Regions from separate parts of the Homo sapiens genome. Here region 2 is linked to region 1. Evidence: promoter capture Hi-C in 16 types of primary human blood cells and fetal thymus (Javierre and others, 2016). All regions are on one chromosome and are shown on one strand. The core of a region is centred on a gene start or on the middle of the fragment in contact, and the rest is flanking DNA. Distances in the headings are between cores, read along the strand shown. Region 1 holds the start of CENPE (centromere protein E). Region 2 overlaps PPA2 (inorganic pyrophosphatase 2).

The links. Contacts are between HindIII fragments. The CHiCAGO score rates a contact against its expected background, and 5 or more counts as called.
Region 2: a contact is called between a fragment that was not itself captured here and the fragment with the promoter of CENPE in region 1, in 1 of 17 cell types (fetal thymus). The highest score is 5.1, in fetal thymus.

What each region holds. Positions count from the first base shown.
Region 1 is chr4:103,194,674-103,200,843 of GRCh38, reverse strand. It overlaps CENPE (centromere protein E), which reads left to right and starts at 2,501. Exons shown (of 49, transcript NM_001813.3): 1 at 2,501-2,580; 2 at 3,994-4,085; 3 at 4,592-4,681; 4 at 4,806-4,924; 5 at 5,611-5,730; 6 at 6,160-6,170. The coding sequence starts at 2,525. RefSeq lists an enhancer at 2,085-2,639. The HindIII fragment of the contact is 3,749 bases long and covers 1-3,455 here.
Region 2 is chr4:105,467,130-105,473,796 of GRCh38, reverse strand. The region is part of intron 1 of PPA2 (inorganic pyrophosphatase 2); the gene reads left to right. Among named protein-coding and RNA genes, the nearest start is that of PPA2, 3.6 kb to the left of the region's middle. RefSeq lists enhancers at 1-94, 385-554. The HindIII fragment of the contact is 487 bases long and covers 4,244-4,730 here.

The DNA of each region.
Region 1 (6,170 bases), core at 1,252-3,751:
TCTTGTCCTCCCAAGTCTGGCTCACTCTTCTCACATAGGTTTCACTTCAAAGGTCACCTCCTCAGGTCTTTCTTGAACATCTCATCTAAAATAAACCTTCCTCCCAACACATTATTTTACTATATATTTGTTATGTATTGTCTGCTGCTTCCCACAAGAATGTGTTTCATAAGAAACTAGCACTCTTAACCCACCTTATCACTCTCTCTCTGTCTCCTGATCCTATTAATCATTACATTATGTGTGTGTGTGTGTGTGTGTGTGTGTGTGTGTGTGTGTGTGTGTAGAGAGAGAGAGAGAGAGACTGAGATTTTTCTGTATTACCCATCTCCTCTAAGAGAATAGCAACTCTACAACAACAGGTACTGTGTCTATTCTATTTACTGTTGTGCTTCCTGACCTTAGAACCGTATCTGGCACATAACAGTTGTTCAATGAATATTTCTTGATGAACAATTTGGAAAGTCAGATGAAAAAATTGGATAGAGAGCATATAATAGAGAGCCTGGCATATAGTAAATCTTCAATAAATGTCACCTGCTGTGATGATAAAAAAAGACAGTCATAGCAACGATCATAAGCACAACTATGAAAGGCTGATGACTTCTCTTTACTCGTGAACCAATCTCCTCTTGTCTCATTAGAAATTTTGATTAATCACATCTCCCTTCTTCTTCATAGGTTCCTTGCCTTCAGCTGTCTCATATTTGCCCACAATTAAAACAAAAACAACAGTTAAAATATACCTTCCTTAACTCTGTATTTTCTTACTAGATACAACCAAGTATCTTTACAGTCTAGCAATAAAAAAGAGTTGTTTATACTACCTCACAGCTAGTTAACCAAAACAAATCTTGAATGAATAGACTCATTTTTCTTTACTGTTCTTATCTATAAACTAGTTTCTTTAAATTGAAAGAAACTACTTTCATCTAACTCAGTCTACCATCTAACTCAGTCCTCACTCTGCAAGGAAATTAGGCATATTCTGTGTATCTTTCCAAAAATTATGTATGTATATCCAGACATATTCTGTGTACATAACCGTGCACCTTGAATTTCTCTTAATAAATGAAACATCTTGGATAGCTTTCTAAAGTACACATAAAAAGCTAGGCCAGGCACGATGGCTCATGCTTGTAATCCCAGCACTTTGGGAGGCCAAGGCAAGGAGGATTGCTTGAGCCTAGGAGTTCAAGACCTGCCTAGGCAACACTGTGAGACCCCACTCCCTACCCTAATCCCCCCACCACCCCGTCTCTACAAAAAAATTTAAAAATTATCTGGGCTTGTGATGTGCCTGTAATCCAAGCTACTCAGGAGGTTAAGGTGGGAACCCCACTTGGGCTGAGGCCAGGAGTTGAGCCTGCAGTGAGCTGTGTTCAGCCTACTGCACTCTAGCCTAGGTGACAAAGCAAGAACTCATGTTTATTTAAAAAAAAAAAAAAAAAAAAAAGAGAGAGAGAGAAGAAAGGGAAAATAAGCATTATTTTTGGGAAAAAATCACTGTATTTAGAATAGCTTTCCCTCTTAGTTAATAAAAGTAACAAACCAGGCCAGGAGCGGTGGCTCACGCCTTTAATCCCAGCACTTTTGGAGACCGAGGCAAGTGGATCACCTGAGGTCAGGACTTTGAGACCAGCCTTGCCAACATGGCGAAGCCCCGTCTCTACTAAAAATACAAAAATTACCTGGGCGTGGTGGCGGGCACCTTGTAATCCCAGCTACTGGGGAGGCTGAGGCAGGAGAATCACTTGAATGCAGGAGGTGGAGGCTGCAATGAGCAGAGATAAGCACCACTGCACTCCAGCCTGGGGTGACAGAGCGAGACTCCGTTTCCAAAAAAAAGAAGAAAAAAAAAGTATCAACCCATTACTCAATGAGTTTTTCAGTCCTCGGTATTTATTTTCCCTAATTCAACCTCTGAGGAAGCCACAGCTAATGGAAACGAGTTACAGAGAGAGAGAAACAGGAGAAAAGCCTAAACTCAGATTTTCTAAGGCGCACAACAGGCTTGTCACGTTTCTGGACTGGACAGCGAATTTCAACTCTTGCTGTTGAAAGTTTATTTTAAACTGTTGGTGCAGTTTCTTTAAAAGACGGCAATTCTGTTTGGGTAGTGAAAAATACATGTATCTCTACCTAGTTTCGTCTACAGGTTCCAAACTTTTTAAGGATGGGGTGGAGGATGACGTTCGCTAGCTTTTGGCAGATAATAGTATTCTGGTATTCCAGGACCACCACTCTCTGCCCACTCCTGGGAGCCCCTCCCTTCGGCCCTCTCCTCCGACTCTCTGCTGGGCCCTTTAAATCCCCTCTCCTGTTTAGCAGTGGTCACGCCGCCCGCCTTGCGTCCCCCGCGCTGCTCCGCACGTGGAATGGCCCATGACGTCACGAGGCCACGGCTCAATCAGATGCGGCGTTTGGGAAATTTTAAATTTAAAGGCGGGGCGGCCTGTGAGCCCTGAAGTGCCGGCCGCGGAGGGTCCTGGCCATTTTCCTGGGACCAGTTCAGCCTGATAGGATGGCGGAGGAAGGAGCCGTGGCCGTCTGCGTGCGAGTGCGGCCGCTGAACAGCAGGTAGGGGGGCCACACCACGGCCCGGTGCCCGCTGGGCCTGCGGCGCCGCCCTGAGCCGGAGGGGCGAGGCCTACGATGTTTCCAGGAGCCGCTGCTTCCCGGCTCTGCTGTCTAGTGACTCGGCTGCTGGCCATCGTTTCAGGGTCTGTAAAGTGACAGGGGAGGATCGGAGATCTAGAAGATACTTTCCAGCTGCGAGATTCACTTAAATTTAACTCAGTCTCGCTGACATACAGACCTTCCCTTCTGTGCTGCTCTGCCTTGCGGCATCTGCTCCTCCCTGCCCCATTCCCCGCCTAGAGAAGTCGTATGGGACCGTGCCTTCCTGGCCCTCATCACAGTTAGTCATTTTACACCTAACTGCTGTCTCCAGACCCTCTGAAGACAAGGGCTAGTCTGTCTTGTCACATTACATTCAATCGTCACTCAAGATCATTCTACAAATATTTATCAATTTTTTTTTAGTGACTTTGTACAACACAGACACTCCCGTCATTGCCCAGTGGCTCTTCCATTCTAATGGGACGAGACAGAAAGTAAAGTTGAAAATGTAGGATGTTAAGTGGTGATATGTAGGTAATAAGTGCTAGGGAGAAAAAGCAGGAAGAGGAATAAATGAAATCGGTTTGCTTCACTAGCTTCTGGCCCTCGACCCGAAATGCTAACACTTTGTGTGTGTGAGAAATTTTTATTGAACACGGGGTTTAATAAATGCAAATACCAAGATCAGGAATTTCCTATTTTTGAGGAGCTCATTATCTAATGCCTTAAACGGCTACATAAAGAAACCATTAGGATACCTTTTGACAAGTGTTATGATGGGCAGGTAGAGAATGTTTGCTAGAGGAGTTATTAGCCCATCAGAGACGAAAGCTTCCCGTGGGGTGAACTGGTGTCAGAAAAGTCTTGACGCTTTTCATGAGTGAAATAATCCCTATGTTACTTAATGGAAAGGGAAGTCAGAGTATTCCAGGCACAGAGAGGTTACATCTGTCATTTGGGGAAGACCTTCAGGTAGAGCTTAGGATGTATCTAGGAATTCAGAGGAAAATGGAAGAGAGAAATGACATGATCTAGGACTCGTGCCCTGCTGAGGATTTCATAAGTTTCCAAAAGGTTTTAAGAATTTTAAGCAAGACAGACATAATCAGAGTTGCATTTTGAATCCATCCCTTTGTTTACCAGTACTGGGGGAGAGGGTGAGAATGAAAGCCTTCACAAGAAAACACTTTTGAGGCGGCAGAAGGTCACTGAAGCTCCATTTAAGAGTTGAATCCTCAAAGATGGACTTTCTGTCATTCTCTTATGTTACTATCTTTCAAAATATTCTTTAGCAGGTGAAATCTTTTCAATTATTCCTCCTATGACATGACTTTTATGACTGGTTAAAATGCGGTGTTTTTATTCTTTTAGAGAAGAATCACTTGGAGAAACTGCCCAAGTTTACTGGAAAACTGACAATAATGTCATTTATCAAGTTGATGGAAGTAAATCCTTCAATTTTGGTAAGCTTATAATAGCATCAAAAGTTACCTTGTTATCCTTTTGCTATTAAAAGTACAAAAGGCTTATCAATAATATTAGATTTGTCACTAAAGATTAGACTAAGCCTTCTATAAACTGCTTCACTGGAAACAAAATTGTTTATCCATCATGTATTTAAGTAAGGTAACCAATTGGCATTTAAAACAGTTATAATCACAGTTATCTAATTTGCATCTAGGTAGATTCCAGACCCCCATGTGCAAACACTATACCTTATTGCCTCTTGAAAGAACATAGAAAAGTTGACTTGTAGTGTATTTTTTGTGTGTGAAAATGAACTCATTTTACCTTAGGGAAGGGTATTTTCAGAGAACCAAAAAGTTGAAAAAAATACTGTGTCTTAAATAGTTGATCATCCTACATTCTGACAGTTTTACTTTTGGGAATAATTACTAATTTGGAATGAAAACACAGTGGACTCATTTGATTTAACTTCTGTGTTGTTGTTGTTGTTGTTGTTGTTTAGATCGTGTCTTTCATGGTAATGAAACTACCAAAAATGTGTATGAAGAAATAGCAGCACCAATCATCGATTCTGCCATACAAGGCTACAATGGTTTGTATTCACTCAATGCTGCAGAAACATTTTAGTCTTGGGCGTCTGTGCAACAAGCATGCATAGTTTTACCCATTATAGGTTTGTTTTTAATCTTTGCGTATGTGTGTTTTGTTTTTTGCAGGTACTATATTTGCCTATGGACAGACTGCTTCAGGAAAAACATATACCATGATGGGTTCAGAAGATCATTTGGGAGTTATACCCAGGGCAATTCATGACATTTTCCAAAAAATTAAGAAGGTAAGTAACTTAACTGGATTTCTAGTACGTACAGGTAAAACTAGTAAAAACTGGGTACCAGTCTTAGTGTATTTCTCTTGTAAAGATGAAAGGAAGTAGATTTACAGTTATTGTTTGATTATCCATGGGGAAAGAAGAAAGGCATAGCATAGATTCACTTTTATCTCCACAACTTACTTTATAAAGCTTAAAGTTCTTTTATTCTTTCTCTTGAATTCTGCAACAATAATACTCTCAACAAAAAGTAGGCATTAAGGAACAAGAAAATGTTATCAGAATGGTTAGCTCCACCTAACCATTTAACTATCAGTGATTATAAAGGAACAGTAGAAAGTGGATGTAGGTAAAAAAAGAAGGGAAGCAGAAAGCCAGAATAGGCAACCGAGTTAGTTGGTTTCAAATTAGCATTTTTATTAAAATAAGAACATCTTTTGAGAGGGTTTTATTTTGAGCCTAGAGTTTGAGCCTAGAGTTGGTGTTCTCCCAGCTTTATGGTACTTCACTTTTCATTATTTCTGTAACGATGCTTTTATATTTTTGTGTTCATTATTTTGTCAACAGTAGAACCAAGGGGTTTCTTAGTTTGTTTTACATACATTTTACCTCTTTAAGCACATGAGCATTTAGCATTAGGTTTTCACAATTGGATGCTTCCTGGTGTTTTTATATAATTTTTTTTCTTCTAGTTTCCTGATAGGGAATTTCTCTTACGTGTATCTTACATGGAAATATACAATGAAACCATTACAGATTTACTCTGTGGCACTCAAAAAATGAAACCTTTAATTATTCGAGAAGATGTCAATGTGAGTAGCAGACTTAAGGGAGCTTTAAAATTGACTGACTTATTGAGATTATTGTTCTTGAATGTTTACCTTTAATTTCTATAGTTTTTAAAGTGTCTCCTATTTCTATAGTATGTGAGGGTTTTTTTGAAGTATTTATATTCATCTTTTAAACAATATGAATAGTTTTAAAATACTGACAGCTCTAATATTTTGGTTTAAGTGTAAAAATAGCAAGTTGGAAGTATCAGGTTAGAATTTGTTGTGCTTTGGTATGTGAAATAAATTGTGGGTATTCATAGAATTATTTGTTACATTCCTACAGAATTATGGTTCCATTTGCCACTTTTAACTTTCACAAATGAATTCTATAATAGTTTGCACCTTCTTTTGAAAAGCAAACTTGTGACTTCTATTTCTCTAATCTTTCCATAATTAAACTTGTTTCAGAGGAATGTGTA
Region 2 (6,667 bases), core at 3,238-5,737, 2.3 Mb before region 1:
CTCTCTTTTTGGGGCCCTCAGCGGTAGCCGCGCGGTCCAGGCCACCTTACTTCCCGCGGGAGCGCGCACCGAGTCACGAGAACTGCCAGCGAGGAGGCGGCGGATCAAGACCCCAAAGCGGAGAGCAGAGGCGCAGGGCTGCCGGCTGGGGGGTAGATAGCGCCCTGTGCCCTGCCAGCCGCCCTCCCCGAGGGGTAGGCAGAGTGCAAGCGGCCACCCCGCGGCGGCCTGCAGCCATTAGCCGGCCCGGCCGCCGTTCCCGGTTCACACAACTCAGTGAGGAAGGGAAGGCAGAGCCCGCCCACACGCCGGCCTTCCTAGAGGCGTAAGAAACCTCCTACTGCGGGAGCTCCCTGACGTCGGAGAGGCAGGCGGAACTTTGCGGATGCCTAATCCAGCGCGTCTTCTTTTTTTGGAGGGACTCTGATGAAGGTTCTTTCCCCAGAAGCTTGACTTGGTACGCACAAGTTTACACCCTGAGTGTGATCCACCATCCAAAGCCTCGTTGGTTCCGGAGCAGCCCCTTTTCCTCCCCAAGCTGAACAAGCCCAGAAGGCTAAGCGACTTCGGGGGGGTCCCTGAGTTGCCGAGCTCAGAGAAAGGACCCAGGTCTTCGTGACTCATTGTTCCGTGTACCCCATTGTTTCACTGTGTACGTTAACCGTAACAGAAAATAGCGATGTCGGTCGCTTGCCTTCACTCCCCACTGACTGCAGAGCCTTGGAGTGGTAGTATCAAAGTGGGCCTTGCATTATCGCTCCCCTTTTCGGAGCACTGGCTCTGGAGGCTTTCAGTTCTAAGCAGGCCCTCGAGTTCTTCACGTCTTAACTCTGTGACCCCGGACGAGTTTAAGTTGCTAAGCCTTGTTTTTTCTCATCCGTAAAATAGGGCTGCAAGTATTACATGACATTATATATGTAAACTGATTAGTCACAGGGCCTAAAATATAAATTACTATTGTTAATACCGATAATCATTATAGATATTTGTAATTTATGAGAGATTTGCAGTTATGCTACATGAGTTTAGGGTCGAGGATTATTTTGTGGGAAAGAAGAGTTTGCCTAAAGTCGTGTGATTATAATGCAACTAGTACTAGAATTTCTATTTTCTTCAAAATTGGTTGCAGTTTTCACCCTATGCCACATATTTTCTTCTATCTTTGGTTAAGACTGATCAGGTGAACAGGAAGTCTCAAATTTCTGAATGGATTATGTTCTAAAAGGTTACCATGTGATGATTAATGGGAATAGTCAGAAAAAATTATGAAGTGGCAGTTCGCTTTTTAAGCAGATTGAAAAAAGGCCTGTCTACTGCAAGTATTCTAGATTTGCAATAAGTACGGTAATTAATAGATACCCAAATAATAAATATTTATGAAGTGTGCTAGACACTGTTAGGCATAGTACAGAGATTCACAATATTACTATAATTATGGAAAAAGTAAATACACTGGTTGAGCAAAAACAGGCTTGAGAAGCCAGGAGCGCACAGAGTAGTTGACCCAGTACCGGATTTGGAATGGGGAGTCCTAGGCCATAATCTTGGCTCTGCCGTTAACTCGCTGTGTGCTGTTGGGTGGGTGGTTACTTCAGTTCTTTCTCACAGAGCCAGTTTCTTCAGCTGTAAAATGAAGCTTTTGACCTTGAAACGATGATCCTCAAGGTCCTTCTCAGCACTGGTATTCCCTGAAGGCATTGGATGAATAACGGAGATTCTAACAGTCTCTGTTAAGACAGGATGTCGAATGGGGGCATTTTTGGGAGTATGTTGGCCTCTTATTGTTGGTTTGTTTCTTTAGCTGCAAATGTACTTAGGACTCATGATTTTTCTGTAACTAGAGTGCCACAAATAAAATACGTTTTTCATTCAGTTGGATAAACAGGGCAGGAAAGAAGAAAACCCGATTTTACTAAGGTAAATGGGCAAAAACTGGAAGAAAGGGGAGTGTGGTTTTGGAGAGGGTCCCGATGGTAAGATCCTGATTGGAAGGTGTGTTGGTTAAACAATTTCTGAACTAACCGCCAGATGGCATCACTGGCCAGGACTGTTTACTACCTGCTAGAAGGGGTAGGGCAAAGTGAAACGAAGCCACTCTAGGGCGAATGGGGTAAGGGGAAAGCAACGAATAAATTGCCCTTTATAAAGATGATCACAGATTGGATATTTATTACTCAGTGTGTCTGTATGCAGTACTAGGGTGGACTAATGTCTCACTTCAAAAAAAATATGAGTGTAGTATACTTGGCCTAAAATTGTTACTCAGTGTTACTAAAGTGTAATCATTTTCCACATCTCCAAATATATTCCAAGTCTCTGAAATACTAGTGCATTGGGAGGTAGAACATTTTCGAGCTTCATGTCTGTAAATGGTTTCTCTTTACTGTCATTCAGTAAAATCAGAATAAATGATTGATGTAATACTTAAAAAAAAATTGGTGTTAAACTTTGTAGAAAGAGTGAGACAGGATGATTAGGGGAAAGGGTATCCTGATGGGAATCATCAGGCCTCCTTGGTGCCAGCCCTGACCCTGTTAGTATCTTGCTGTCACTTCACCTCCCTGCATCTCATTTTTTAAAACCATGGAATGAGGAGATTGGACCAGATGATCATTTTCCAGACTGCTTAGTTGAACACAAGCATCCCATGGTATATTATTAGGTTTTCGTTAAAACAGAGGGTTTCATGGTTTAATAAATTAGAACACTTCCCATTTTATTACTTTTTTGAAGAAGAATTTGCCTATTTAAGTTCTGGAAAATTCGGATGTAACTTCTCCAAAAACTGAACCACAGAGTACTTATTTCTCAGAACATTTGTTAACATCTTAGTGACATCAGGGTTATGATTTCTGCAACTTCCAGAAGCAACTGTGCTGTAACAGTTCTAAACTAATAGTCAAACCACTTAAGTTGTAGTCCTGACTTTACCGTCTTGGACAAGTCACTCGACTGAATTAACCAGAGGCATCCCTTACCTTCAGATGACATCCGGTAGCTCAGTTTCTCCGTAAATAAAATGGGGATAGCACTAGTAATTTTATAGAATTGCTGTGGCAGTTAAATGAGACTATGTGTGTAATTATCAGTGTCTCACACGTGATAGGTATTTAATAAATGTTATTTATTTTTCCCTTTTGACTTTAAGACATTAGACTAAAATCCTTATTATTAGATTCTGTGAAGGGAGAAAATAAGGTGATGTGATTGATTATTTTGAAGTGTTCCTGTTAATTTATAGGTTTCAGAAGGTTTTTTGTTGTTGTTGTTTATTCATTTTATTTTTATTTTTTTGGTTTGTTTGTTTGTTTAGAGATGGGGTCTCATACTTTTGCCCAAGCTGGAGCACAGTGTGCAATCACGACTCACAGCAGCCTTGACTTCCCCAGCTCAAGCGATCCTCTCACCTCTGTCTCCTGGGTAGCTGGGACTACAGGCATGCACCACTGTGCCCGGCTTCCTAGGTCTTAAAGTTTTAATGGGTACTTGCAGTCTTTTAAATTAACTGTGAAATCATAATGAAGTTAGACTCACTTATATTGAGCCAAAGACCTAATGCTGCATGCCAGTATTCCTTTGATATCTTGCGTGTTTTTGTTTGTTTTGTTTCGTTAATAACTTGAAATTTTATTTTAGATTTCATACTGTTCTCATAGGATAGGGAAAAGCTATGCTTTCCATAATTAGGAATTTTGTTATTATGGGATAGGCAACTGGTTTACTTAGAGAAATAGTGCTGTGGATAATTCAAGTTGCTTTTATTTAGTCTGGGAATGAACCAAGCAGTTCTTTAAAATTAATTTGCTTTGTCACTTATAGTAAGCATGTGCTTGTGTTGAAATTACTGTAGGTTTTCTTTATGTCATTTGGGTAGTAGGAGGAATCTGCCATTGAAAGTGCTGTATCTTTGGACTTAAAAGAGAACTTCCCGTGAATAATCCACAAAATTTGTTTGAGTCTTAAATATGAGTTTCTGTAACTTTTTAAAGTTGGCCTATATCATAGAACTTCAACTGATATAATGGAACACAATGGGTTTTGTGTGAATATAGAAAAAGTATTTTATTTGATTTTTCAGTCCTTAAAACCTTAAACGTTTTCTATATCAGTGCTGTGAAATAGGAATTGTGTGATCTATATGGAACAGAGGAAGCATTTTTATTGAAGTTTTTAGGCTCCTTTACATTTCTTAATCTTTTTATCAGAAAATAAAACAAAGTTAGCTTTAGTCATTGCTGAAGCTTCCAGTAAGAATCTCTATAAGTGGTTTTGTAGTCGTGTGTAATCATATGTTGGTATATGGCATACATTTAGCTGTCTGGTATAGATACATAAAATTAGGTATGGTTTTCACATTCCATTCAATTTTCTCACTTGCTCTAGTGTAAGTAATAAACTTTCATCCTGATACAACTTGCTCTTGTGAGAGAAAGAATCACATAGATAACTTAGAAAATGCTAGAATAAAATCTGATTTCAGACCAGTTGAAGGGAGAATTTTGACCACTGTTTGGCAATATCGTGTAGATTGATGGGCCTGATAGAGGTTAGCAATTAATGCCTAAGGACACAATCTGATTTTTGACGACAGTGAAATACCATGGCAAAAATGACACAGTGACTACAATCATTTATCTCTTTTCCCCTATAATAAATATCCTATTAAAGTGATAGTAAGTGAGGATAAGAAAGGGTAACCCTAAAACAACAGATAAGGAGCCACCAAAGCTTGAGATTTTGAAATATGTATAAAAGATTAAAAAACCAATGGAGATATGGTTATTAATGAAGCAGTGTGGAAGAAGTCCCAGCTTAAGTATATGTGTTCAGGGGACGTAGTTTAGGGAAAAGCCGAGCTGCTGCAGAACCTCAGAGAGGTTGTGGGTGTGTTGATATAAGATAGGATAGAGAGTTAGATGGATGTAGAACTTAACACAGGGGGATTAGTTTAAGTTGTACTACAAATAGTACACAAATGTTTCCCATGCAGGTCTAATGCATGAGGGTTGTGTTAGTTCCAACTGTAAAAGTGAATGAAGAGCTGAGAGGGAAGTAGGACCCCTGATGGTGTTGGTGCCCCAGCAGTACTCTGCATGCTGGTATTTGGGGACCCCAGCATAACAGCCAGCCTCCTACCCATTCATCTCTGTGGGAACACAGAGTTCCCAGTGATTTTTTCTAGTCTTTTTAATATAAACCAAATAGTCAAGGATCACCTAACTTAGGCTTTCATCGCTACTGTTCTACCAACTGCTTTTTGTCAGGGCTACCTGTCACCTCCATGCTGCGACCTTAATGGTCAGTTTGAAGTCCTCATATGACCTATCAGCAGTACTTTTTACAGTTCATCACTTTCTCTTTGAAACACTTTTTTTGTCTTTCCCAGAGGAAACTGCTTTCCTCTGGGATGCACTTTGTCTTAGTTTTGATGCTTCTCCTTCACATTCTCCCTTGCTGAACCTTTGTCATATTTCCGAACTCTAGCCTTTGAAATGCCCAGGGCTCAATCCTCAGCCCACTTCTCTATCTATACTGCCTCTCTAGGGCAGGTGTTGGCAAAGTTTTCTGTAAAGGGCCGGATAAGGAATACTTTAGGTTTTGCGAACCATTCAGTCTCTGTCACAACTACTCAGCTCTGCCATTGTAACATACAGCCATGGACAGTAAAAGTATGACTGTGGTTATGTTCCAATAAAACTATATTTACAAAAATAAAACCAGGCCATGTGACAGATTTGGCCCATAAAGCCAGAGTTTGCTGACCATTGCTGTTGCTCTGGGTGATCCCATCAGGTCCCATAGTGTTAGACGCTGTTTATGATTCCCCAATTTATAACATTAGCCGCATCTCTTCTTGAACTCAGAATTTACACATCCAGCTTTCTACTCTGTATTTCTACCTAAATGTTTAAGATACAACTCAAGATTAACAGCACAAAACAGAACTCCTGACTCCCCACCCTCACCGAACTTGTTTCTCTCTTTAGTTGCTAACCCATAACCTGGGCATTCTTCTTGTCACCTTTTACTCTTATCCCACAGCTAACTCATTAGCATATTTTTTTGAAATGTACCAAAAGACAATTCCTTCTGTCCACTTCCACCCTTCTCACTTTCTGTTTCACCATCATCTTTCCCTTGATCAGTTGTAACCTCCTGATTCTTCACCCTGCTTCCACCCTTAGCCCTGTATAGTCTACTTTCCATACAGCAATCACCTTCATCCTTTTAAAATGTAAGTCAGATAATGTACAAGCTCTGCTGAAAATGCCAGTGGCTTTCCATTTCACTCAAAAAATTTTTTGAAATATGTACCATAGCATGTAAGGTCCTACTGGATCTAATACTGGGCTCCTCTCTGAATTCATTGCTTGCCACTTTTCCTTTTGATCAGTGTCCTCCTGCCATCCTGGCCTCCTTGCTGTTTCTCAGACATGCCATGTATGTTCTTTCCTCTGCACACCTGTGCTTTTTATGCCTTCAGTGCTCCTCCCTAGAGGTCTACTTGATCTCTTCCCTCACTTCATTCAGATCTGTGCTGAACTGTTACCCACCAGAGAGATCTTCCCTGACCATTCAATATCAAATATTACTCCTTCTGTTACAGTAGGTAGCTAGTCAGGCATGAGCAGGGCAGAAGAGGGCTCCCCTCCCTCAACACACACCA